7 separate regions of the Homo sapiens genome follow, and regions 2, 3, 4, 5, 6 and 7 are each linked to region 1. The links are contacts of gene promoters, found by promoter capture Hi-C in blood cells and fetal thymus (Javierre and others, 2016). All regions are on one chromosome and are shown on one strand. Each heading gives the region's core, a stretch centred on a gene start or on the middle of the fragment in contact. The rest is flanking DNA. Distances are from core to core; before and after follow the strand shown.

What was found. Contacts are between HindIII fragments. The CHiCAGO score rates a contact against its expected background, and 5 or more counts as called.
Region 2: a contact is called between a fragment that was not itself captured here and the fragment with the promoter of TTC27 in region 1, in 1 of 17 cell types (total B cells). The highest score is 8.4, in total B cells.
Region 3: a fragment that was not itself captured here is called in contact with the fragment with the promoter of TTC27 in region 1 in 2 of 17 cell types (naive B cells and M2 macrophages); the score reaches 7.0 in naive B cells.
Region 4: a fragment that was not itself captured here is called in contact with the fragment with the promoter of TTC27 in region 1 in 4 of 17 cell types (M1 macrophages, M0 macrophages, M2 macrophages and 1 more); the score reaches 8.1 in M1 macrophages.
Region 5: a fragment that was not itself captured here is called in contact with the fragment with the promoter of TTC27 in region 1 in 3 of 17 cell types (M0 macrophages, M2 macrophages and M1 macrophages); the score reaches 8.7 in M0 macrophages.
Region 6: a contact is called between a fragment that was not itself captured here and the fragment with the promoter of TTC27 in region 1, in 3 of 17 cell types (M2 macrophages, M0 macrophages and M1 macrophages). The highest score is 8.4, in M2 macrophages.
Region 7: a fragment that was not itself captured here is called in contact with the fragment with the promoter of TTC27 in region 1 in 5 of 17 cell types (M2 macrophages, M1 macrophages, erythroblasts and 2 more); the score reaches 16.9 in M2 macrophages.

Annotation. Positions count from the first base shown.
Region 1 is chr2:32,626,340-32,629,752 of GRCh38, forward strand. It overlaps TTC27 (tetratricopeptide repeat domain 27), which reads left to right and starts at 1,711. Exons shown (of 20, transcript NM_017735.5): 1 at 1,711-2,041. The coding sequence starts at 1,954. LOC124905985 (a long non-coding RNA gene) reads right to left here and starts at 439. Exons shown (of 3, transcript XR_007086273.1): 1 at 294-439. RefSeq lists enhancers at 911-1,572, 1,291-1,350, 1,573-2,232, 1,761-1,820 and a silencer at 2,071-2,200. The HindIII fragment of the contact is 6,273 bases long and covers 1-3,413 here.
Region 2 is chr2:33,486,973-33,490,385 of GRCh38, forward strand. The region is part of intron 1 of RASGRP3 (RAS guanyl releasing protein 3); the gene reads left to right. Among named protein-coding and RNA genes, the nearest start is that of RASGRP3, 12 kb to the left of the region's middle. RefSeq lists an enhancer at 1,628-1,677. The HindIII fragment of the contact is 426 bases long and covers 1,319-1,744 here.
Region 3 is chr2:33,468,914-33,472,326 of GRCh38, forward strand. It overlaps a transcript of RASGRP3 not described here. Among named protein-coding and RNA genes, the nearest start is that of RASGRP3, 6.0 kb to the right of the region's middle. The HindIII fragment of the contact is 3,306 bases long and covers 1-3,306 here.
Region 4 is chr2:33,450,812-33,454,224 of GRCh38, forward strand. It overlaps a transcript of RASGRP3 not described here. Among named protein-coding and RNA genes, the nearest start is that of RASGRP3, 24 kb to the right of the region's middle. The HindIII fragment of the contact is 5,053 bases long and covers 1-3,413 here.
Region 5 is chr2:33,430,156-33,433,568 of GRCh38, forward strand. No RefSeq gene overlaps it. Among named protein-coding and RNA genes, the nearest start is that of MIR4430, 13 kb to the left of the region's middle. The HindIII fragment of the contact is 1,436 bases long and covers 1,157-2,592 here.
Region 6 is chr2:33,408,840-33,412,252 of GRCh38, forward strand. No RefSeq gene overlaps it. Among named protein-coding and RNA genes, the nearest start is that of MIR4430, 8.0 kb to the right of the region's middle. The HindIII fragment of the contact is 4,741 bases long and covers 1-3,413 here.
Region 7 is chr2:33,376,524-33,379,936 of GRCh38, forward strand. All of the region lies in intron 31 of LTBP1 (latent transforming growth factor beta binding protein 1), which reads left to right. Among named protein-coding and RNA genes, the nearest start is that of MIR4430, 40 kb to the right of the region's middle. The HindIII fragment of the contact is 3,551 bases long and covers 1-3,412 here.

The DNA of each region.
Region 1 (3,413 bases), core at 461-2,960:
GTTTAGACAGTGCTGGCTTTTATACTTAAGGAAATGAACAGACAACCTGGTCAAGTATCATTTTCTAGAAAAATAGTGGGGTTTTTTTTGTTTGTTTATTTTTTTGAGACGGAGTCTCGCTCTGCTGCCCAGGCTGGAGTGCAGTGGCGCGATCTTGGCTCACTGCGACCTCCGCCTCCTGGGTTCAGGCCATTCTCCTGCGGCAGCCTCCTGAGCAGCTGGGACTACAGGCGCCCGCCACTACGCCCGGCTAATTTTTTAAAAAAATATTTTTAGTAGAGATGGGGTTTCACCTTGTTAGGCAGGATGGTCTCCATCTCCTGACCTCATGATCCGCCCGCCTCGGCCTCCCAAAGTGCTGAGATTACAGGCGTGAGCCACTGCGCCCGGCCTGAAAAACAGTTTTTAATTACTTCTCAGTGGGAGGACATTTTAGGGCATCCGCTCTTCTCCAATCACAGTCAGGTCCGGCTTCCTTTGGTATCTGATGGCAATGGCTGAAATGAGCTGAGCTGAGTTCCTCTCCCTTCACATTCTGGAGTGGCTCTTTACTGAGTAAGAAAGTGAATTAACATTTATTTAGCTTCTTCCTTGGAGCTGGGTACCGGGTCAGCCTCTTTTCAGAGAGCTTTTGCTCTTGTGGTCAGAGTTACCCTGCAGTTTTCTCCTGGCTCTTACATGACATATCTCAGTACAGGTGTCAAGCCAATGGGACAAAGCCATAGTCCTGTTTTCCTTCCCTCCTTCCCTCCCTCCCTCCCTTCCTTCCTTCTTCCCTCCCTCCCTCCCTCTTTCCTATTGCCCAGGCTGGAGTGCAGTGGCACCATCTCAGCTCACTGAAACCTCCGCCTCCCGGGTTCAAGCAATTCCCCCGCCTCACCGTCCCGAGTAGCTGGGTTTACAGGGGTGCCCCACTACGTCCGGCTAATTTTTGTATTTTTAGTAGAGACGGGTTTCACCATATTGGCCAGGCTGGTCTCGAACTCCTGACCTCAGGTGATCCATCCGCTTCATCCTCCCAAAGTGCTGAGATTACAGGCGTGAGCTACCGCGCCCGCCCTCTAACTGTTTCTTTGGAGTGCTGCTAGGAAGATTCAAAGAAGTGCAAATAAGGTACCAGCGGAGGCTGGTTTGTCTCCTTGCAATTTCTTTGTGATCACCCCTGGGATCACTCTTCTACAGCGTTCCGACAGTGTTCCAAAAACTTCCCTGCACCAGCGGCAGGGGCAGATTTCCCACCCGGCCATGATTCATGTAGAGCAGTGTCAAAACCAGATCCTTTCCTTACACGCTCATTCGCCGAAAGACCCATGCTATGCTGACGGGGTTCCAACCTGGGCTTCACCGACTCCACGTCAGAGGGTCTGTGATTCCCTGAGAGGGTACCCTTAGGCTGAGAGCAAGGGCCCACCTGCACTCTGCGCGAAGGACTGTGGTTTTCATCGGGTTGTCGAGAGCGTTCTAACCCAAAATGCTTTAAGAATCACAACTCTAGCCCTTCTAATCAAACTGCTTTGGCCAAGACGTCCGTTTTGAGTTGCATTTGAACCCTAGCCCTCGGTGGGAGGCACACTCACTTCCACGTTCACAGTTCTTGGAAGCGGTCCCACTGGGGGCGGGGCTGAGCGCGACCGCGCCCTCAACTCCCCCTATTGCCCGCCCCGGGGTGGGGCATAACCACCCAACAGGCTCCTTACTCAAGCTCGGGTTCTTCTCCTAGGCGGAAGCCAGACCAGAGAGCGTGCGTGTTTTTCCCAGGGTGCCCCGCGCTGCTGTTATGGCCGCCTCCTTGAGGTAGTATCCGCACATGGAATTCTAGGGCCGCAGGTGTATTTACGGTAACTGTCGCCACTAGATTTCAGCGCCTTTGGACTCTCCTGTTTTCACTTTCTTTTGTTGACTCCCGTGTGGCCCTCGTGGGAGCCTGTTTTGGCTGCAGCGGTGTCTGGGGTGATGTGGACCCCGGAGCTGGCAATTCTGAGGGGATTCCCCACTGAGGCTGAGCGGCAGCAATGGAAACAGGAGGGGGTCGTCGGTTCAGGTGAGAGGCGCACCTACCGGGCCTTAGGCTATCGTGGGAACTGTGAGGAAAAGGGATGGCAGCGACTGATTCTCATCCCTCCCTTCATTTTTCCCTAACACAGTCTAGCTGATTCCTTGAGGCTTTGGGTCGTTTAGTCTTTGACATGGTGGGCGTGGTCCTCACTTTCTTTGCGCAAAACTTCTTACCGCCCAGGTTCAGTAATAATGACAATGGCAATGTCAGTTATTTTTCTAAGCCCTTAACATGTACTCAGTCATTTAATGCTTATAGTAGATACTTAAGGTAGATTCAATTTTTAATCCCATTTTGCGGTGAAGATCTGTAAATACAGTTGGGTTAAGTAATTTTATTTTATCTATTTATTTATTTATTTATTTATTTATTTATTTATTTATTGAGACGGAGTTTTGCTTTTTGCCCAGGCTGGAGTGCAATGGCGCGATCTCGGCTCGCTGCAACCTCCGCCTCCCGGGTTCAAGTGATTCTCCTGCCTCAGCCTCCAGGGTAGCTGGGATTACAGGCATGCGCCACCACGCCCGGCTAATTTTGTATTTTTAGTAGAGTCGAGGTTTCACCATGTTGGCCTAGCTGGTCTGGAACTCCTGACCTCAGATGATTCGCCTGCCTCAGCCTCCCAAAGTGCTGGGATTACAGGCCTGAGCCACCGCGCCCGGGTCTGGTTAAGTAATTTATTTAAGGTCACACTGTTGGTAAGCAGAGGAGCTAAAATGAGGCAGCAAAGTTGTTTTTTTGGGGGGATGGAGTCTCCCTCTTGTTGCTCTGGCTGGAGTGCACTGGTGCCATCTCGGCTCACTGCAACCTCCGCTTCCCCGGTTCAAGCGATTCTCCTGCTTCAGCCTCCAAAGTAGCTGGGACTACAGGCATGCACCACCATGCCCGGCTAATTTTGTGTTTTTAGTAGAGACGGCTTTCATCATGTTGGTCAGGCTGGTCTGGAACTCCTGACCTCAGGTGATCCACCCGCCTCGGCCTCCCAAAGTGCTGGGATTACAGCCATGAGCCACCATGCACGGCCTAGGCGGCAATGATTTATTTTTTTTATTTTTTTGAGACAGAGTCTCGCTCTGTCGCCTAGGCTGGAGTGCAGTGGCGCGATCTCGGCTCACTGCAAGCTCCACCTCCCGGGTTCACGCCATTCTCCTGCCTCAGCCTCCCGAGTAGCTGGGACTAAAGGCGCCTGCCACCACGACCAGCTAATTTTTTTTTTTGTATTTTTAGTAGAGACGGGGTTTCACCGTGTTAGCCAGGATGGTCTCGATCTCCTGACGTCGTGATCCACCCACCTCGGCCTCCCAAAGTGCTGGGATTACAGGCATGAGCCACCGCGCCCAGCCTAGGAGGCAAAGAT
Region 2 (3,413 bases), core at 282-2,781, 860 kb after region 1:
AATAGACAAAATAAATGATAATTAACCCCCATTTATTATCTAACTTTAACAATTTTCAATTCATGGTCATTCTTATTTAATTTATATATCCCTACCGATGTTCTCCCCTTCCCATATTAGCTTTGAAGTAAATCCCAGATATTTCATCATTCCATCCGTAAATATTTTAGTATGTGTTTCTAAAAGATAAGTTCTCTTAAAAAGTTCACAACGTCATTCAGACATGCAAAATAATTAATAATAATTCTTAACTATTATTGTAGTTTGTCAAGTAGAGGGATGACATGAATACATTTGCATTCTGGAAAAAAATTTCTGAAGGCAATAAGGACGACAGATCAGAGAAAGAAAAATACCAAATACCAAAAGAAGACTTCAAAGATAGGTTTGAACAAAGACAATGATAATAGAGAGGGTGGAAGAATTTTCAAAATGTTTAAAAGGTAAAGTTGATAGTTCTTGAGATTAATTGTATTTGGGTGTGCAGGAAAGGAGGGAGTTAAAGAAGTTTTGGAGGTTTTAATTTGAATAATCAGCATATGAATATGCCATTAACCTATATAGGGAAAGGATTCCTTGAAAAGCAGTTAGCCTGGTTCAGCATTATACAGAGACTACAGGAAACAAATCAAAAAATATCTTCCTATTACCCTCAAACAAAAGTTTGAGATTTCCACCTGTAGTCCTAGCTACTTGGAAGGCTGAGGCAGGAGGATTGCTGGAGTCCAGAAGTTTGAAGCCAGTTTGGGCAACATAGTGAGACCTCATCTCCAGAAAACAACAAAACTTTGAGACTCAGAGCATTTGGAATAATTCTGATTGCTGCACCTTAAGAAAGCCATTAATGCCAGCCATGGTGGCTCATGCTTGTAATTCTAGCGCTTTGAGAGGCTGAAGCAGGAGGATCACTTGAGCTCGGGAATTCTGAGACCAGCCTGGGCAACATAGTTGCAGACAGCAGTACACTTCATTCCTAAACATTTCATCACGTATATATGTATATTACCAACTAGAGTTAGTTATTGCAGAATTTATATTTCACACAAGAGAGATTAAACTTATACATTTATTTTCTCAATGGGAAAAGCCGTGATTCAAGAAAGATTAACACAATTCATGGCTGATTCTTACTCGATTATTTATGAAAGCAAGAAACTGAGAACCTCTTGATTTTCAAAAGTTGTTGCCATACAGAGCAGCCACATCCTACTACAAAACAGCCTTTGAGTAACTATCAAGTATTGTCCTGGCAAAGCACGTTTCTCTCAATAAGTGTTAATTGAATTTGAATGTAAAGAAACTGACACCTAGAAATGCAAGCTTTTTGCCAGTAACTGACAGAGCTGGTACTAGAACAAATTACTTCTAATAGTTTCTCACTGAGCATCACTCCTTACCTCTAACAACTCTGAATAGTAATAATGGAACACAGAAGATGCTTTATTAGTAAAAAGGTAATGCTTTCTATATCAAGTCATTGTGAGATTGCTCAAGGCTCAATGGGACCAAGTAGCTGGGCCGTAGGAAAGGAGGTAAAATGCTCTCACAAAAAAAGAACTCTCCATACACAATGGAAAAAAAATGCCTGTGTTCATATTTATCCTCTGACTTCCTCCAGAAGAGGATTAAAGCAGCTGATGACAAAAAGCAAAAATAAAACACAACTGAAAATGATTAACACAGGAATAAAACAAGGGCCAAAATCCACCAGTTAGTCAGGCGGGGAATACATTTGGACCTAGAAAGCTTTAAAATGTTCTCAATTATGTCAAATTCTGACATGTTAAATCTTGCTGATTGGTTCAAGAATTAAAAATCAAGTTGAGATGATGTCTAAAAGACATGTTCATTCAAATGTTTTTTGTTGATGAAGATATCGAGTATTCATTTGGAAACTGAAAAACTCAGTCAAATAGCCAGGCATTTGCCTACACAAGAAACAGACATTCTGATACTAGAAAAGATTTTAGGGGTTTGACCGATTTTTTTTTTTTCTGGTTTCCATTTTGATGTTATGGCATCAGTCTATATCAGTGGTTCTCAACTGAGAGTGATTTTGCCTTCCGAAGGACATTTGGCAATGTCTGGGGACATTTTTGGTAGTCTCTACTGGGAGTGGCAGTGGAGTATTACTGGCATCTAGTTAGTAGAGACCAACGATGCTGCTAAACATCCCAAAATGCTCACGACAGCCCTGCATGACAATCAATTATCCAACCAAATATGTCAATAGTACCAAGGTTGAGAAATCCTGATCTATGTGAAACAATTAAAAATCTCACGCAAACATGCCTTCAAAGACACTTTAGATGAGTTACATGCAACATTTTTGCTTGTCTGCTGCTGAGCAGTAAGTGATGATGGCCTAATACACTTGCAGAAATACTGCTGCATCGGCGTCAGGGTGGAGATGAGATGTCAAATGGCCAGTCCTTCAGAATGAAAAGCCAAGTTGAATGGTTCACAACACAGGCTGACAGCACTCTTTGGTGTCCAAAAGATCAAATGTTGGCAGGCAAGGATACTGATATTTAGTCAGCAGAAAATATTCAAAGCAATGAGGGACACATTGTTGTTTCTTTTGTGGGTTTTATTTTTATTTTTTATTTTTTTGGCAAGATCTGGCTCTATTGCCCAGGCTGGAGTGCAGTGGTGGAATCTCAGCTCACTGTGACCTCTCTGCCTCCCAAGTTGCTGGGACTATAGGCAGGCACCACCACACCCAACTAATTTTTGTATCATTTGTAGAGAAGGGGGTTTCACCATGTTGGCCAGACTGGTCTTGAACTTGTGAGCTCAAGCACTCCTCCTGCCTCAGCCTCCCCATGTGCTGGGATTACAGGTGTGAGCCACTGCTCCCAGTTGACAGATTGTTGATGAGGACAGAACAAGGGATCTTTAGGTCATAAGTCATGGGACAGTTGATCCTGGGACTTGGGAAGTTCATTTCTCTGTTTCTGGCTTTTTTCATCTTCAAAAACTCAGGAAAAGAGAACTGAGGGCATCAGAGCAGGCTGATTTGATACACTCTTGCTGCCAACCTGATGACTGTATATCTCTATGATTTATGTGATTCTTTCTCATGTTCCCTTTACTAATTATAACTATTATCCATGTTTGTAACCATGTTCTTCTTCCTTCTTTCATATTATAACTGGAACCCATTCTCTTCCCTTTGGTTATCTTCTCTTCCTTCTGAGTTTTCAGCTTCCTCTACTATGTTCTCCTCATCAGTGCATCGGTCTGCTTCAGTAACTCTCATCTTTTAAAAATATCCTTTGCTTGCCACAACCTCTGCCAACTTCTCTTCACTGCAATTCTAAACAAACTTGTTGAGCTCATATTCTACACACGTTTTCTTTGTTTCTTTACCTCTCATTTACTCTTGCACTCACACCAAACTAGCCTCTGCC
Region 3 (3,413 bases), core at 404-2,903, 840 kb after region 1:
AGCTTTTGACATACATTACAAAATTATCTTCCTCCTATGTTGTACGATTTATATTCTTTCTGGTAGAGTATGAAGGTGCCATTTTCCAAACCTCCTGCCAACACTGAGAATTTTCGTTTTTTCATCTTTGTCAAGTTTATAGATAATAAATTGTATCTTATCGTTGTTTAATGTATACTCCTTTTTTAGGGAAGCTGACTTTTTCATGTGTAGATTGGTCATTTATGTTTCTTCCCTTGTGAACTATTTATTAATATCCAGTTGTTAATTGTAAATGCTATTTATATGTTAAGACCATTAACCCTTTACCATACGTATTTCACTTTTGAATCTCATTTTATTATTTGTAGGTTAATTTTGATTACCGTTGGATTATATTTTACATATATGTTTTATATTTTATGGTTTAAATCGTGAACTTTTATCTTTATAGCTCCTTCTGTTGTGACTGTGATTGAAACGTTTTCAGGACAAAAGTATTTAATCATGATTAAAACAATTTTAAGATTATAAAACCAATCATGTGATTCTCTTCAAGTTTGTATGTGATTTTTTTTTTTTTTTTGACATGGAGTCTCATTCTGTTACCCAGGCTGAGTGCAGTGGCGCGATCTTGACTCACTGCAACCTCCACCTCCTGGGCTCAAGTGATTCTCCTGCCTCAGCCTCCCTAGTAGCTGAGACTACAGATATGGGCCACCATGCCCAGCTAATTTTTTATATTTTTGGTAGAGAAGGGGTTTCACCATGTTGCCCAGGCTGGTCTCAAACTCCTGACCTTAGATGATCTGCCCACCTCGGCCTCCCAAAGTGCTGGGTTTACAGGCATGAGCCACCGTGCTGCTGTACAGCGTTTTTATGTTTAACTCTTTAGTCTAACATGCTTTTACTTTGTGTATGGCATGAAGTAATGATTGCATCTTAATTTTTCCGAATAGTTAATGATTTAACCTGTTTTTGAATAGTTTATTCTTTTCCCACTGGGTTTAAAAACCATATTGAACAAATACAATAAACATTTTACTGTAGTTCTTCTATGTGTATTTCTGGGCTTTTGGCTCTGTTCCATTGCTCTAGTTCTTTTGGCACTAGTACCAAACTTTAAATTCACGTTATTTTTAGCCTATTTAGTACCTAATATCTCCCTTGTGGTTCTTTTCTAAAATTTTCTTTACCATTCTCAGTTTTTTATTCTTTAAAATAAACTTGAGGATTTTTGACCTGTTTGAAAAATTTATTTGGGATTTTAAGCAAAATTTGATTATATTTATAAATTAATTTGAGGGAGAATTAATATATTTACAATGTTAAGTTTTCCAGTACAGAAAAACTTTCCAATACAGAAATGTATCAAACTGTTTTTAATTTTCTCAGTAAAGTTACATTTTTAAATAGGTTATTCACTTTTTTTATTCCTAGAAATGTTATTGTTGTTGTTGCTATTATAAATAATACTATAACTAAGAATTTTTTTTTTTTTTTTTGAGATGGAGTCTCACTCTGTTGCCCAGGCTGGAGTGCAGTGGCGCGATCTCAGCTCACTGCAAGCTCCGCCTGACGGGTTCACGCCATTTTCCTGCCTCAGCCTCCCGAGTAGCTGGGACTACAGGCGCCCGCCACCATGCCCGGCTAATTTTTTGTATTTTTAGTAGAGACAGGGTTTCACCGTGTTAGCCAGGATAGTCTCGATCTCCTGACCTTGTGATCCACCCTCCTCGGCCTCCCAAAGTGCTGGGATTATGGGTGTGAGCCACCACGCCCGGCCAAGAATTATTTTCTATTATGTTTTCTAAGTTTTTGTGGGTTATATGGAAAATTTCATATATTTCTGTATAATTGTTCCGTGGCCAGAACAATTAATTTTGTATACTTATTTTGTATATTTATTTGTAACTGTTCACCTCACTTTTTAATTATTTAGAAGCAAATTTTAGTTTGTTCTATTGAGAAAATGAATATTACTCAATCTGCAGGTTGAATACTTTTGTCTCCATTTTTCTCATAAAATTCTTCTTTAGTTTCTTTTTCTTGCCTGGTTGCAGTGGCTCAAATGTCTAGAACAGTGTTAAATGGATGGTAGTGATAATGAGCATGCTTTTCTTGTTTCTGATTTTAACATTAATACTTCCAGTATTTTACCATTAAGTATGATGCCTATGTTTGATTTGAGATTTGAATTAACATGAGTATCATGTTAAGAATCAGTCTTTTAATTTTGTTTTATTAATTAAAAAATTGATATTGAATTTTATCAAATGATTTTTCAAGATTATTGTGGCAATCCAAAAGTTTTTCTCTGTTGCCCAGTCTGGAGTGCAGTGGTGTGATCATACCTTACTGCAGCTTTGATCCCCTAGGCTCAAGTGATCCTCCTGCCTCATCCTCCCAGGTTGGTAGGACTATAGGCATCTGCCATCACACTGGGCTATTTTTTTTTTTTTTTTTTTTTGTAGAGATGGAGTCTCGCTATGTTGCCCCTGCTGATCTCAAACTCCTGGCTTCAGGTGATCCTGCCACCTTGGCCTCCCAAAGCACTGGGGTTACAGGGGTGAGCCACTATTCCCAGCCTTATTTTTTACATCTTTAGGGCAACCTATGTTTACGTATGAAGTTAGTCTGTGGTTTTCTTTATTATGCTTTATCAGTTTTTTTTTTTAAGACAGGGTATTATGTTAGCTTTCTGTTACTTTTGTCCACTTGAACACTTCATATACCATGGGAGTTAATTCTGCTTGAAGCTCAGTTAGAACTTGATTGTGTAAGTAATCTGAACTAAGAGCTTTTTTTGGAAATAATTCCTTATTAACTTTTACATTTTTCCATGGTTACTGATCTGTTGTTTTTTGACTTCTTCCTGGGTCAGTTTGCTTCTAATTATTATTTTGGCTATGTCTCCCAATATTTGATATGTGGTATTCTCATCACTGAAACCTTCTAAGCATTCATTCTGTAATTGTGTTTTTAATTTATTCTCCAATCAATGATTTTTTTTTTTAAGAACTCTAAAGTTTCCCCAAGAGCGTGGGGTCTTTTTGACTTACACTTTTGTAATTAATGTATAGTTTTATTACAGTGTGATCACAGAATATGGCCAATTTCTTTTGGAAAGAAATTACTTACAATTTTTTTTTGGTAGCCTAATATAAAATCAAGTTTTGCAAACTTTTCTTATATTTTTTTCTTAATGGGCTAGACAGAAGATCCTTCTCTTTAATTATTCATTTATTCATCGAGGATTGTTTCCACCATGTGTCTCATACATGCCAGGCATTGTATTAGGCATTGCAGGATATAAAATAAGTCATAAGCTTTGTCTTAGATTGGTAAAGTTTGGATGGAACACAGACACATGTAGACCTAATTATAATACAGAAAGAAATGCAACCGCAGCGAAATGTACAAAAGCAGCAGGC
Region 4 (3,413 bases), core at 565-3,064, 820 kb after region 1:
TTCTTTCTTTCTTTTTTTTTTTTTTTTTTTTTTTTTTTTTTTTTGAGACAGAGTCTTGCTCATTCGCCCAGGCTGGAGTGTAGTGGCATGATCTCGGCTCACTGCAAACTCCACCTCCCAGGTTCACAGCATTCTCCTGCCTCAGCCTCCTGAGTAGCTGGGACTACAGGTGCCTGCCACCACGCCTGGCTAATTTTGTTTTTGTATTTTTAGTAGAGACAGGGCTTCACCGTATTAGCCAGGATGGTCTCGATCTCCTGACCAGGATGGTCTCCAACTCCTGACCTCGTGATCTGCCCGCCTCAGCCTCCCAAAGTGCTGGGATTACAGGTGTGAGCCACCGTGCCCAGCTGAGCATTTTTTCATATACCTATTGGCCATTTGTATTTCTTCTTTTGAGAAATACCTCTTCAGGTCCTTTATCCATTTTAAAATTTGAATTATTTGTTTTATTGCTATTGAGTTGCTTTGAGTTCCTTACATATTTTGGATATTGGTCCCTTATCAGATATAATACATAGTTTTCAAATATTTTCTACCATCCCACAGGCTGTCTCTACAGTCTGTTGATTATTTGCTGTGCAGAAGCATTTTTGTCTGATGCAATCTCAACTCTCTGTGTTTACTTTTGTTGCCTGTGCTTTTGGAGTCATATCTAAGAAATCATTGCCGAGACCAATGACAAGAAGATATTCCCCTATCTTTTCTTGTAGTAGTTTTATAGTTTTCAGGTGTTAAGTTTAAGTTTTTAATCTATTTTGAGTTTAAGTTTTAATCTATTTTGAGTTCATTTTTGTATGTAACGTAAGGGTTCGATTTCATTTACTGCTGCTTTCAAAGTTTTTTCTTTGTCTTTTGAGAATTTGATTGTAATGTGTCTTGGTGAAGATCTCTGTATTTAATCTGCTTGGGGCTATTTGGGCTTCATAGATCTGGATGCTCATTTGCCTCTCCAGATTTGGGAAGTTTCTTATCATTATTTCTTTACCTAAGCATTCTGCTCTTTTTTCTTTCTTTGCTACTTTTGTGAATCCCCTAATGTATATATTGGATTGCTTGATATTGTTTCATAAATCCTATAGGCTTTTTTCATTCTTACTTCTTCTTTGTTGTTGTTGTTGTTTCTCTGGCTGAATATTTCAAATGATCTGTCTTTGAGCTCACTGATTCTTTTTTCTGCTTGATTGAGGCTACTGTTGAAGCTCTCTATGGAATTTTCAGTTCCATCACTATGTTCTTTAGATCCAGAATTTCTGCCTTGTTCTTTTTTATGGTTTCTATACCCTCATCGAATCCCCTATTTTGCTTTCATATTGTTTTCATGATTTGATTTAGTTATCTGTATTCTCTTATAGCTCACTGAGCTCTGTTAAGATGATTATTTTGAATTCTCTGACAGGCAGTTCATAGATCTCCATTTATTTAGGGTCAGTTACTTAATTTTGTTGTTTGGTGGTGGTGTTTCCCTTATTATTCACTATCTTTGTGGCTATATATTGATGTCTATGCATATGAAGAAGTAAGCACCTGTTCTACCTTTTACATATTGGCTTTGGAAAGCTCTCACCAGTCTATCTAGAGATTCTGGGTGGGTTGTTTGGTGGAATCTGAGGGCAGACTTGCTCCTGTATTCTCAGGCAAGTTGCCTTGGTGCCTGAGTCAGCAGGCAGGAAGGCCTGGAGCTTGCATCTCCTGGGGTGGGCCTCGATTCTGGGTTCATGGGAGTGAATCTGGACCCTGTGTTTGCAGGGGCTGGCCTGAAGTCTAGGTTCATGGGGGCCATCCTGTCCATGAGATGGACCTTGAGCCTGAGTTCATAGAGGCCCACTTTGTTCTAGGATGGGCCTGGAGCCTGAGTCCACACAAGGGCTAGCCTGGTTACTGGGACTTGCCTAAAGCCTGTGTCTGCAGGGGTTGGCCTAGAGGTTGAGCTGCTGTGGCAGACATGCCTCTGGGTGTAGAGCCTAGTGCTGTTGTATTGGTGTGGTGCTTGAATGGAGCTGCAGCCTGATGCTATAGAGGCCTGCTTGCAGCCTGGGGCCATAGGGGCTGGCCCAGCATTAGGGTAGCCCTGGATGCCCTTATCCACAGGTGCTAGCCTAGAGCCTGGGATCATGAGGGCTGCTCTGGCACTGGATTTCACTGAAGTGGGCCCGATGCTGTGGTCCATAGCAAAGTAGGGTGTTCAGTTCACTCTCCTTCCCCCACAGGGAAGGTATCTTTCTCTGTGCTGTGCACCCCTTGGGGGAGGGATGATATCAGTAATATGACACTCTTTCTCGCCCTCTTCAATGTGCCTTTTCTTATTTCTGTACTGGGGTAGGCATGGCAGTATTTGTGCCCCAAGGGCCAGAGACATCAAAATGGATTAAGAATATTTTAAAAAGCAATGAGTGTATTATAAAGATTTTGAGCTTCCAGCTGAAGACGGGCTTAACACACACATTATCTACCTTTGTTTCCTTTTGAAACCCCATTAAGATGAGATCAAAGGGTTTTTGATCTCAACTGGGATTCTTTAGTTCTTGAGAAGGTACATTCATGCATGGATAGTTGTTCAAATTGGTGTTTCTGTAAGGGGATATGTGCTGGAAAATACTATTGCACCATCTTGCTGAGGTCTGCTTTTGAGGTGGCTCACTTATATGGCTGGCATGTTGGTGCTGGCTGTTAGCTGAGACTTCAGTTCCTTTCTTCGTGGACTTCTCCATGGGTCTTATTGGATACCCTTATAAGGTGGCATCTGACTGGCTTCTTTCAGAGTGAGAGATTCAAGAAACCAAGATGAAAGATGCAAGGTTTTTTATGACCTTGCCTTGGAAGTCATACGTCATCACTTTTCATGTATCCTATTGGTCACTCAGGGTCAGTCCTGATTCAGCATGAGCAAGGACTACATGAGGATATGTAAGGATCTTGGGAGGCCATCTGCAGATTATCACATGTATATGCCAAAATAATGTTATAAAAGATGTAATTAAAATTGATCTTATTTTTCTCCTTTGTACTTTTCTATACTTTAAAAGTTTTTTATGATAAACATATATGATTTTTGAAATTACACACATACAAATCAATAAAAGTGGGGGTTTTTTTGGGTTAAACAAGAGAAATTTATTTTTCACTATCCTGGAGGCTGAAGCTCAAAATCAAGGTGTCAGCAGGTTTGGTTTCTCTTGAAGTTGTCTCTGTGGATTGAGATGGCTGTGTTTTTCACAGTCATCTTCTTCTTTTAAGTAAAAGTTATTTTTTTAAAAGCCATACATAGTCCAGAGAGGAGTGAGTCAATTCTTGTTACTTTGATTTAACACTGATGTCAAGTTCAAGATCAAGGTGTCAGCAGGTTTGGTTTCTTTTGAAGTTGTCTCTGTGGATTGAAATGGCTGTATTTTCACTGTCTTCTTCTTCTACTT
Region 5 (3,413 bases), core at 625-3,124, 800 kb after region 1:
CATGGGGTTGAAAAAATACAGTTTATAAAAAAGAATTGTGCTGGCCTCATTGTCCAAATAAAATACAATTTGTAGCACGTGGTTTCTTTCAGAATTAATTGCACATTAATACTTGATATTTGAGCAGGCTGTATATTAAGGAGCTACAACATGATACGAGTTCCAAGAATGTGACTTTAGTGCTTAGTGTTTTAAATCTAGACTCTTAGATGCTCTGATCTCATATAGCTCTAAAAAGTCATTTCCTTCTTAAACTTTTCGTCCTCTTCAGCCTCTAAATGGAAATTAAGCCTGCCTAGTTTCAACCTGATTTACAGCTTTTAATCTGTGTTCTTAATGAGGTATTAGAGAATATTTATAATGTCATTGTGTAGTCTGTCCACAGAAGAATAACTGTGAATATATGTTTAAAATTCCATATACTTTAGAACTTAATGTTTTGCCTGAAGAAAGAGCTCACTGATATATTGAGCAAGCGTTTGGATTCGCCTTATGTAGATTAAATTCATAATTTTATTTTTAACAGAGTCATTTACGTTTATGACATCACAAGGAAGTATAATGACAGTCTATCAGTTTCTACTTAGAAATAATAAGATAATTTGTTCTTCATGTTCTGGAAGATATTTGCCTGTCAGATAGGTGGCTAAAAAGATGACTTTGAAAGCCCTTTCTAATCCTGAGGATGTGAGTTTACACTGCCAAAGTAACTTCTTGATGTACTCAATATTACTTGGATGTGAAATGTAGTTTGCTCCCCACATAGAACATAATTTTTAGCCCCAAATTTGCCTGTAAAAAGTGAAGTTTATAGTGGTTTTGTCTTGTGTATTTTTTATATGACATCATGCTTTAGAAATATAAACAAATGGAAAATCAAAAATTGGATCAGAGGGTAACACCGTAATGGATTTGACTTTTAACTTCTCTAGAGGACTGATCTATTAAATGTTTTCTTTCTCCTCAGTATTGTTCTATAAAGATGTCAACAGTGACACACTGGTTATCACAGCACTTTGTATGAATACAGCCAGAATTTGTGGCATTCCAAAATGTCTTGAGAGGCTTGGAAAGGAAGGTCTGAGGTCACAGAAGCTTAGCACTGAAAGGACCTCAAAGATAGAGCATGAGGACATTTAGGTCCCTGAGTTGCTCAAGCTTGTGTAACGGTAGAGAGATGCCCTGATCTTTCTCAAGGCAGTGCACTTCCCACTGGTTTGAAAGAAGAAAACTTAAGTTGTTTTGTCTATTTTACCTTTGGGTAGCACTGTCCCTAACTGTCCTATATTAACCACCTGGTGTATGATGTCTACTTTCTTTTTTGTTTGTTTGCTTGTTTTTTTGAGACGGAGTCTCACTCTGTCGCTCAGGCTGGAGTGCAGTGGCGCGATCTCAGCTCACTGCAAGCTCCGCCTCCCGGGTTCACACCATTCTCCTGCCTCAGCCTCCCAGGTAGCTGGGACTACAGGTGCCCATCACCATGCCCAGCTAATTTTTTGTATTTTTAGTAGAGATGGGGTTCCACTGTGTTAGCCAGGATGGTCTGTATGTCTACTTTCTTCTTTCTAGGTCAGTCATCCATTGTGTCAGACAGAAAACAGGGGGCCCTCACAATCCCACTCTTGGTAGTCACAGCCTTGATCCCTCACCTGATCACAGGAAGGACTTGTGACTTGCTTCTAGCCAGCTGAATGCAGCAAAGGTGACTTGAGTGTCCAGGATCACATGTACATGATTACCTTACATAAGACTGCAAATCATCTTGATAGGAGCTCCTCTCCTATAGCTGGCTTAGCCAGACATGGATTAGCTGGGTCACTGCCTCATGGTCTTAAAAGGCTGCAAGAAGGTATTAGCTGGAACTTTGGTCATCTGAGGCTCGACTGGGGAATGATGTGCTTCCAAGCTCATGTGGTTATTGGCAACGTTCAGTTCCTTGCAGGCTGTCAAACTAAAGGGCTTCAGTTTCTTGGTGGCTGTTGGAGGGAAGCTACCCTCAGTTCTTTACCAAGTGGTCTTCTTCATAGGCAGCTGGCTTCTTCAGTGGCAGCAACGAAGAGAGATTTTCTTGGTCATTCTGAATACTCAGTTGTTTTTAACTTGCTTCATCTAACCAGTGTGAATTTGCACCCTACAATTTGTTAGAATTATAAAGCTGATGGTTGTGTTCACCTTGCCAGTCTTAATATAAACTCAATTGCATAATTATGTGTTTCAGGGGAGTATGGAGTATATTGACCCCATTGTGAGTTCGAACTAATCTATTGTATAAGTAAGGAACCTGTATAGACTATTAATTCAGTAACCAACCTACTGCTTGGCTTTTTACTCGACTACAGTGACTGCCAAAATGAAAAGTTTAATTGTTGTTGGATAAATCAGTTCCATTGCCCTGCTCTCTCCCCTCGTTTCTTCCTTCCTTCCTTACAAATACTGCACACAATCAGCTAATATTTAGGTGCGCGTGCTGTCGGCGCCCATGGTAGTTCCTTTTGCCTTCAGATGGGTGCCATGAGCTGTCTCTACCACGGTCTGTTTTGTTTCCTGTGTATTTTACTTCCAGTGATGGTTTTGCTTCTTCTTTGCCTCCAAAGCTTCACAAACAACCTTAGCGCTGAGTCCAAAGGCATTTCCCAAAGGAATATACAACTAGCAGAAACAGCAAAATGAGAGTCTGTGTTTCAGAATTAGTAGGAAAACTTTTACCATAACACCAATTAGAATTTCCTTTAGTTATTATGACATCAGATTTTAGCTTCAACAAAACTGAACTAGCTCTAGATTTTATTATCGGCGAGTCTCAAGTTGTCTTTTTTGTTGTTGTTGTTACACAAAAACTCATGCTGTTTTATTTTAGGTGCATGGCAGAGTGACAGAATACCAACAGAAACCAAAGTCTAGTGCAGGGAAGGTAGTCTGGTTTAGATTTTCCAACTGAACTTTACCAAGGCTGGGCTTCTCTTGGGAGATATTGTGCACTGTTTTATTTGTGCCAAGAGTTTTCTAATTTGCAAGGTAACTTTAACATTATGTTTGCTGAGAATCAGTCTAAATAAACTACTGATGAACACAAATCAACTTCAATTAAATTAATGGAAAAGCTTTTTTTCTATCCCACTAAGTCTTCTAGCTCTTTCAAAGAGTTGGTAACTCTTATATTTTATTTTTAAGATGGAGAAGTCCTTCCTAACTTTCAACCACCTTTTCATTATTCCTGCTGTGATTTAGAGAGCCATCCTTAACCTGTGTTCTTTTGAGTGGTTATTCTAGCAGTTTTGACTTATTTTCATTAGTATGATGCAACAATTCAAGTCAAAGGAACACAGTTCATAGCCCACAATTTGGTCATTATCTAGAGCTTCTGCACTTTGGGGATAAAGATAAGCTATTATTAAAAATACCTATGGGACATA
Region 6 (3,413 bases), core at 572-3,071, 780 kb after region 1:
CCCATTGCTTTTTATAAATTTAGGATCTGTTTAAGTTAAAAACAAAACCCTGTTGGGATTTTTATTAGAATTATATTGATTCTATAGATAGTTTGGGGAAAAATAACATCTTTACAATATTGAGTCTTCTGGTCCATGACATTGATTTAGATTTCACTTAATATTTGTCATAAATATTTATAATTTTCTTCATAGAGGTTTTTACTAATATTTTAGTAGATTTATTCTAAGTATTATATTTTGTTGCTGTTGGAAATGTTATATTTTTAAAGATTTGTGTTTGATATTTGTTTCTGGTGTATTGAAATACAATTGACTTTTAGATACTGATCACAACCTTGCTAAATGCTCTTCTCAATTCAAATAATTTATCCTAAGATTATTTGGGGATTCTGTGAATGGCAATTTTGTTTCTTCCTTTCCAGTCTTCATATTTTAAATTTTCATGCCTATTAAACTAGTTAAAACTTACAGGGCAATATTGAATTACAGAGTGATGATAGCAGGTATACTGATTTTAAAGAAAATCCTTTTACTGTTGCTCTATTAAATATAATGCATGCTTAAATGTTTTTATGTATACCTTTTCTAGGGTAAAGAATGTTCCTTTCATCCCTAATTTGCTAATGGGCTTAATGTGAATGTAAGTGTTGAGCTTTATTGAGGGTTTTTTTTTTTTTTTTTTGCAGCTAAAGAAAAAATTCCTTTTGCCTTTGTTACCCACAGAAACCAATTATAACTCAAGAATAAACCTCTGCCTTTGAAACATGCCTGAACTGGCCTCTGCTTGACAGCACTACCCAGTGGGTCATCCCAGAAACCCAGGCCTCTCAGGATTAGCAAAAATTTTCATTGATTTATTGAGATAATAAGATATTTTATTATTCCCCATTTAGCCAGGAAATTAAGTTAGCCAACTACCGGAAATTATAAATTGATTTATCTTAAGCAGTATGTAACTCCAAGTGCATACCTTGGTGCAAAATTAAAACCATGAGTTAAACATATTTCCAGTGGAGTTAGCCTAGGAAGCATTCAGTTCAGAGACACTGGACAGACAAATGCAGTATCCTAGCATATAGGAAGAGCAAAGTTATTTCATTTATTCTGGCAGCTTAGCCACCCCACACCACATGCAATGTGCCTACATTGAAGACAAAACGCTCAACAACCTGGAGAGGGGATGAGGGAGGGAGAAGTAGAAAACAGGCAGACAATAGCAATAGTGAGATTCTCTAGTGGCAGAGTATAGCAAGTGGATGTTGTCCAGTGAGCCAATGGAAGCACTGCTGTAGTGTAAGAGTCCAATTGTATTAGAATCCATTAACTTTTCTGTGTTTATCATACACTAATAGTAAAATATTTACTTTTACTGTGTGTATTAGCTTGAAATAGGCATCCTTCACATTGTTTTCTTGCTGGATGCTTTGTCCCAAGTTTTTACTGACGCCTTTGGTTTCAGGTACTTTGGCTATTGTATAGAAAATTGTTGGCCAGGTGCAGTGGCTCACGCCTGTAATCCCAGCACTTTGGGAGGCCGAGGTGGGTGGATCACCTGAAGTTGGGAGTTCAAGACCAGCCTGGCCAGCCTGCCCAACATGGTGAAACCCCACCTCTACCAAAAATACAAAAATTAGCCAGGTATGGTGGCGGGGGCCTGTAATCCCAGCTACTAGGGAGGCTGAGGCAGAAGAATTGCTTGAACCTGGGAGGCGAAGGTTGCATGGAGCCGAGATCATGCCATTGCACTTCAGCCTGGGTGACAAGAGCAAAACTCCACCTCAAAAAAAAAAAAAAAAAAAAAAGAATATTGTTCATATACCGTTTTGCTAGTTCATTTCTATTAGTGTTTATGAAAGTTTATTCAAATTTATTTCAAGTTATTTACTTTTGCTTTCCATTATTTGTTGGAAGATTGTATTGATATCTCTATAGTATTCTATGTAGGATATAGGATTTCATTTACCAATAAATTCATTTTGTTTTATAGTCTACTCAGTGCCAAAAGTCACAGATACTGAAATCTTTCTCTCTCTCCTTATCTCCTTCTCTCCCTCTCTCCCTCTCTCCCTCTCTCCCTCTGTCCCTCTCTCCCTTCCCTTCCCTTCCATTCCCTTTCTTTTTCAGAGTCTCACTCTGTCACCCAGGCTGGAGTGCATTGGTGCAATCTCGGCTCACTGCAACCTCCACCTCCCGGGTTCAAGCGATTCTCCTGCCTCAGTATCCCAAGTAGCTGGGATTACAGGTGTGCGCCACCACGTCCAGCTAATTTTTGTTATTTTAGTAGAGACAGGGTTTTGCCATGTTGGCCAGGCTGGTCTCCAACTCCTGACCTCAGGTGATCCACCCGCCTCAACCTCCCAAAGTGCTAGGGTTACAGGTGTGAGCCACCACACCCGACCGAAATATTTATTTTTAACCACATGATATTATTTATTTGTAGAATTAGTGGAACATTGCTACATAACCATAACCAGTGGTTTTCATCTGGACACCTGTATCTGTAGAATCACTTAAAAAACTGTTTAAAGGCAGAGGTGGGTGGATCACGAGGTCAGGAGATCGAGACCATCCTAGCTAATACCGTGAAACTCCATCTCTACTAAAAATACAAAAAATTAGCTGGGTGTGGTGGCAGGCACCTGTAGTCGCAGCTACTCAGGAGGCTGAGGCAGGAGAATGGCGTGAACCTGGGTGGCGGAGCTTGCAGTGAGCAGAGATCGCACCACTGCGCTCCAGCCTGGGCGACAGAGTGAGACTCCGCCTCAAAAAACAAAAAACAATGTTTAAAACAAGTGGGAAGAAAACTACTTTGATTTTTTTTCCCCCAGAATTTCCTTGTAAAATTGGCAAGCCTTATATTTCAGTAAATAAGTAAATATAGATATAGATGTAGACTAAATATAGATATTGACCTTATACTGGATGCCAACTGTGTGCCTTCATCTTCACATTCTTCAGAATTTTATGTAGTTTGCATAGCATTCTCTGGAATTTATTTTTTTGTTTTGTTTTGTTTTGGTCTGGGCCAGTCCCTGGGAACCAGCTGCTTAAACCACTGGGTACAAGCAAAACCCTGTGGTCTCTGTGCACTTTCCCATCGGCACTGCTTCGATGGACATAAACCTGCAGGAGAAAGTAAACAGAGATCTGGATGGTGTTTGTTTTTAGTGTCAAGGAATGACGTCACTGCCTGAGACCATGACTTTGAGCAAATTGGTGGATGGGCACAGAAAAATCAAACCCTGGTTAAGAGGCCACATCATTAGCACACAGAGAACAGTATATGTGCATTTCAAAAGTAGAAAACATTAACCTTTTATGAACTTTGGGTAAACTGGATGGTGTTTGTCAAGGCCAAAAAAGTGCAGTTTGTAAAACATGCATGCTATGCTTGGGCCGATTATTTTTCT
Region 7 (3,413 bases), core at 387-2,886, 750 kb after region 1:
AGTAATGAGTCTGCCCTGCCCACCATAGGATGCGGAGCACCTTCTTGCTTCCGTGCTAACGGGATCCCAGGTGTTTCTCATGTGTGTTTTTTTATAATCAGTATCTTCCATTGCAGTGACTTTCAAGGGAATAATAGGACAGAAAAAATAAATAGGACCTTTTATCCAACTATACATGCCCTCCCGTAGGAATCAGATACCTTCTCCTAAGGGGATATCCTCACCCCACTGAGATTCCCTAGTAGATCAATAGCTGCCAGCAGGATGGGGCTTTTATGGATGGTCAGGGCCTCCTTTACTAAACTGGGGAAGAGGTACTGGATTTGTGAAAGGGGCCAAATAAGCAGGAATGAATGGCAGAGAAGCCAGGTACAAAAAGCAGGGACAGTACGTACATAAGAGGAAAAATACTAGATGCTAAATTGTGTGTTTTTAAAAAATAACCATGTTTGGGCAGGTGCATTGGAAGGAAAGAAAGCAATGGGCAAGGAAGCCACATTCCAGTTATGATCCTATTGTAGTCATTGAAAGCAGAAGAAAAGCAAACATGGTTTGCCGCAAGGTGAGAATAGTTAAAATAAAATTTTTAAAAACCCTGATAGAGGGGAAAACTTACTCCTTCATTTCTTGCTAAACTGCTGAAGACAGAGCTCTGGAGGAGTGTCCTGGAACAAGCTGCCATTCCCAAACCCCAAATCCCTGGATTGCGGGTGAGTCAGCAAGTATTTGGAACGCCGACCAGGGAGGACCAGTGGACCTTGCTAGACTGCACTGTAGCATGAACTCTCTGTTTTGAAAGCTGATTGAAGCTACTGCCTCAGTGTCCTCACCAGCCATTAGAGAACAGTTCAAGGCGAGAGAAGTTTGATTAATGGGTTACTCGTTGGTGACATGAGCACTTCTGAAATTTTACTTCTTGTACAGCTTGAGCCTTGGAGTGTCAGTTGTATTCATGGCACTTTTCCTAAGAGCTATACTGCATGGAAGTGCTAGGGAAAGTATTTGGCCACTCTCTGTTATAAAAAATACTCTGAATAGAAAATAAATTTCATTATGATAATAATCTTACTGATGTCCTATTAAAATCTTTCTAGTTTGAGCGAAAGGAGAGAAATTCAGGCATGCATGTAAACAATCTGATCCTAAAAAGCAACACTTATTTTTAGTTAACAAGTGTATCAGTCTGTTTTTACACTGCTATAAAGATACTACCTGAGATGGGTAATTTATAAAGAACAGTTCTTCATGGCTGGGGAGGCCTCAGGAGACTTATAATTGTGGCAGAAGGCAAAGCCAGACACTTCTTACCTGGCGACAGGACAGAAGGAGAGAAAGAGCGAGGAAGTGCCACACTTGAAACCATCAACTCTCCTGAGAACTCCCTCACTATCATGAGAACAGCGTGGGGGAAACTGCCCCATGATCCAGTCACCTCCCACCAGGTCGGGATTACAATTCAAGATGAGATTTGGGTGGGGACACAAAGTCAAACCATATCAACAAGCAATCATATTTATCTCAAAAGTAAAAGTCTTAGCAGTTTTACCTTTCTCCTGTGAAATCAGAGATTATGAATAGGCATTCCGTTTTCTAGAATCGCCCATTCAGTATGATACTAAATGATTTGGTCTAGTGAACATTTTACTTTCATATATATATATATGTGTGTGTGTGTGTGTGTGTGTGTGTGTGTGTGTGTTTTGTTTGTTTGTTTGTTTTGGAGACAGAGTCTCGCTCTGTTGCCCAGGCTGGAGTGCACTGGCACGATCTCGGCTCACTGAAACTTCTGCCTCCTGGGTTCAAGCGATTCACCTGCCACAGCCTCCCGAGTAGCTGGGACTACAGGCTCACACCACCACACCTGGCTAATATTTTTTATTATTATTTTAGTAGAAATGGGGTTTCACCATGTTGCCCAGGCTGGTTTCAAACTCCTGAGCTCAGGCAATCCACCCGCCTCAGCCTCCCAAAGTGCTAGGATTACAGGCGTGAGTCACCACGCCCAGCATACTTTCACATCTTTTAAATAAAATTTGCTCTTCTTTTTTTCCTTTTGAAAATAGGGCTAGTTGAAGCATACTCTAAGAAGCATGAACTGTGATGAGTCTGACTTTGAGAAAATCACTGTGCATAATTGCTTAAGCACTGTTCTAAGTTTGAGGTTTTGAATTCAACTAACGTTTGAATTTCTTTTGACCTCTTCTTAACGAACCTAATAATACAACTATGGCTAGAACAAAGCTGCTGACTGCCCATGTCTGTTAAACAGTGACCTCATGGCCAGAGCAGGCAAGCCGGGCAGAGGAGGGATGAAGTAAATTTTATTCTCCTTTTATGCCGCAGACAGATTGTGCCCCTTATGATTGGGAGAAAAACATCTAGAAAGTTCTTAGAATGACCAGGTTCTTGTATTTACAAATCTGCAGGGAGCAGAAGCTAGAAAGTAATTGTTCTGCTAAGCATCAGTAGCCACTACCTTAAGAAAGAAGCAGATTACAAAACATTAGCTCATTGGGAGGGCTTCTGACACAACAAAGCCTTCTTTATGCTTCCTTCTGGGCTTCAAGTCTCAGTGGCAGGCTGAGCTGTTTTGAGCAGTTGTGCTGATTGTACACTGCTCATTTCAAGAAAATACTAGGTTGGTGCAAAAGTAATTTCAGTTTTTGCCATTGCTTTTTTTTTTTTTTTTTTTTTTTCTTTTTCCAAGACAGAGTCTCATTCTGTTGCCCAGGCTGGAGTGCAGTGGTGCAATCTTGGCTCACTGCAAGCTCCGCCTCCCAGGTTCAAGCAATTCTCCTGCCTCAGCCTCCTGAGGAGCTGGGACTACAGGTGCCTGCCACCATGCCCAGCTAATTTTTTGTATTTTTATTAGAGAGAGGGTTTTACCTTGTTAGCCAGGATGGTCTCAATCTCCTGACGTTGTGATCCACCCACCTCGGCCTCCCAAAGTGCTGGGATTCATAGGCATGAGCCACCGTGCCCGGCCCTGCCATTACTTTTAATGCATTCATGTGGTAATCTGTGAGCCCCTTCCAAAGAAATCACTGCCAGAGGCAGAAGTTGCTAGGACTGTATCTGATAGTGAACAGATCCAGAGGGGAAGGAAAGAGGAGGGTCATCTCAGATTGAAGTAAATGGCAGAATACAAAGAAATCATAAAACAGAATCAGGATTTCAAGATAGTCCATCTTTTACTTTGCAGTGATGTCTTACTTCCTGTTATTGAATGAAATACATTTTCATGACTAGTCATTGACTATGTTTAGTGTTATTTTCATATTACATTGATTAGAACTTGCTCTTCCAATAATGTTAATGGATAGTGGTATATCTTTGTTATTCAGAACCTTGAGATCTGAACTTCTGAATATTAAGAGAGTTTTAAATATTAGAAGAGCTTTCTCTGCTATGAA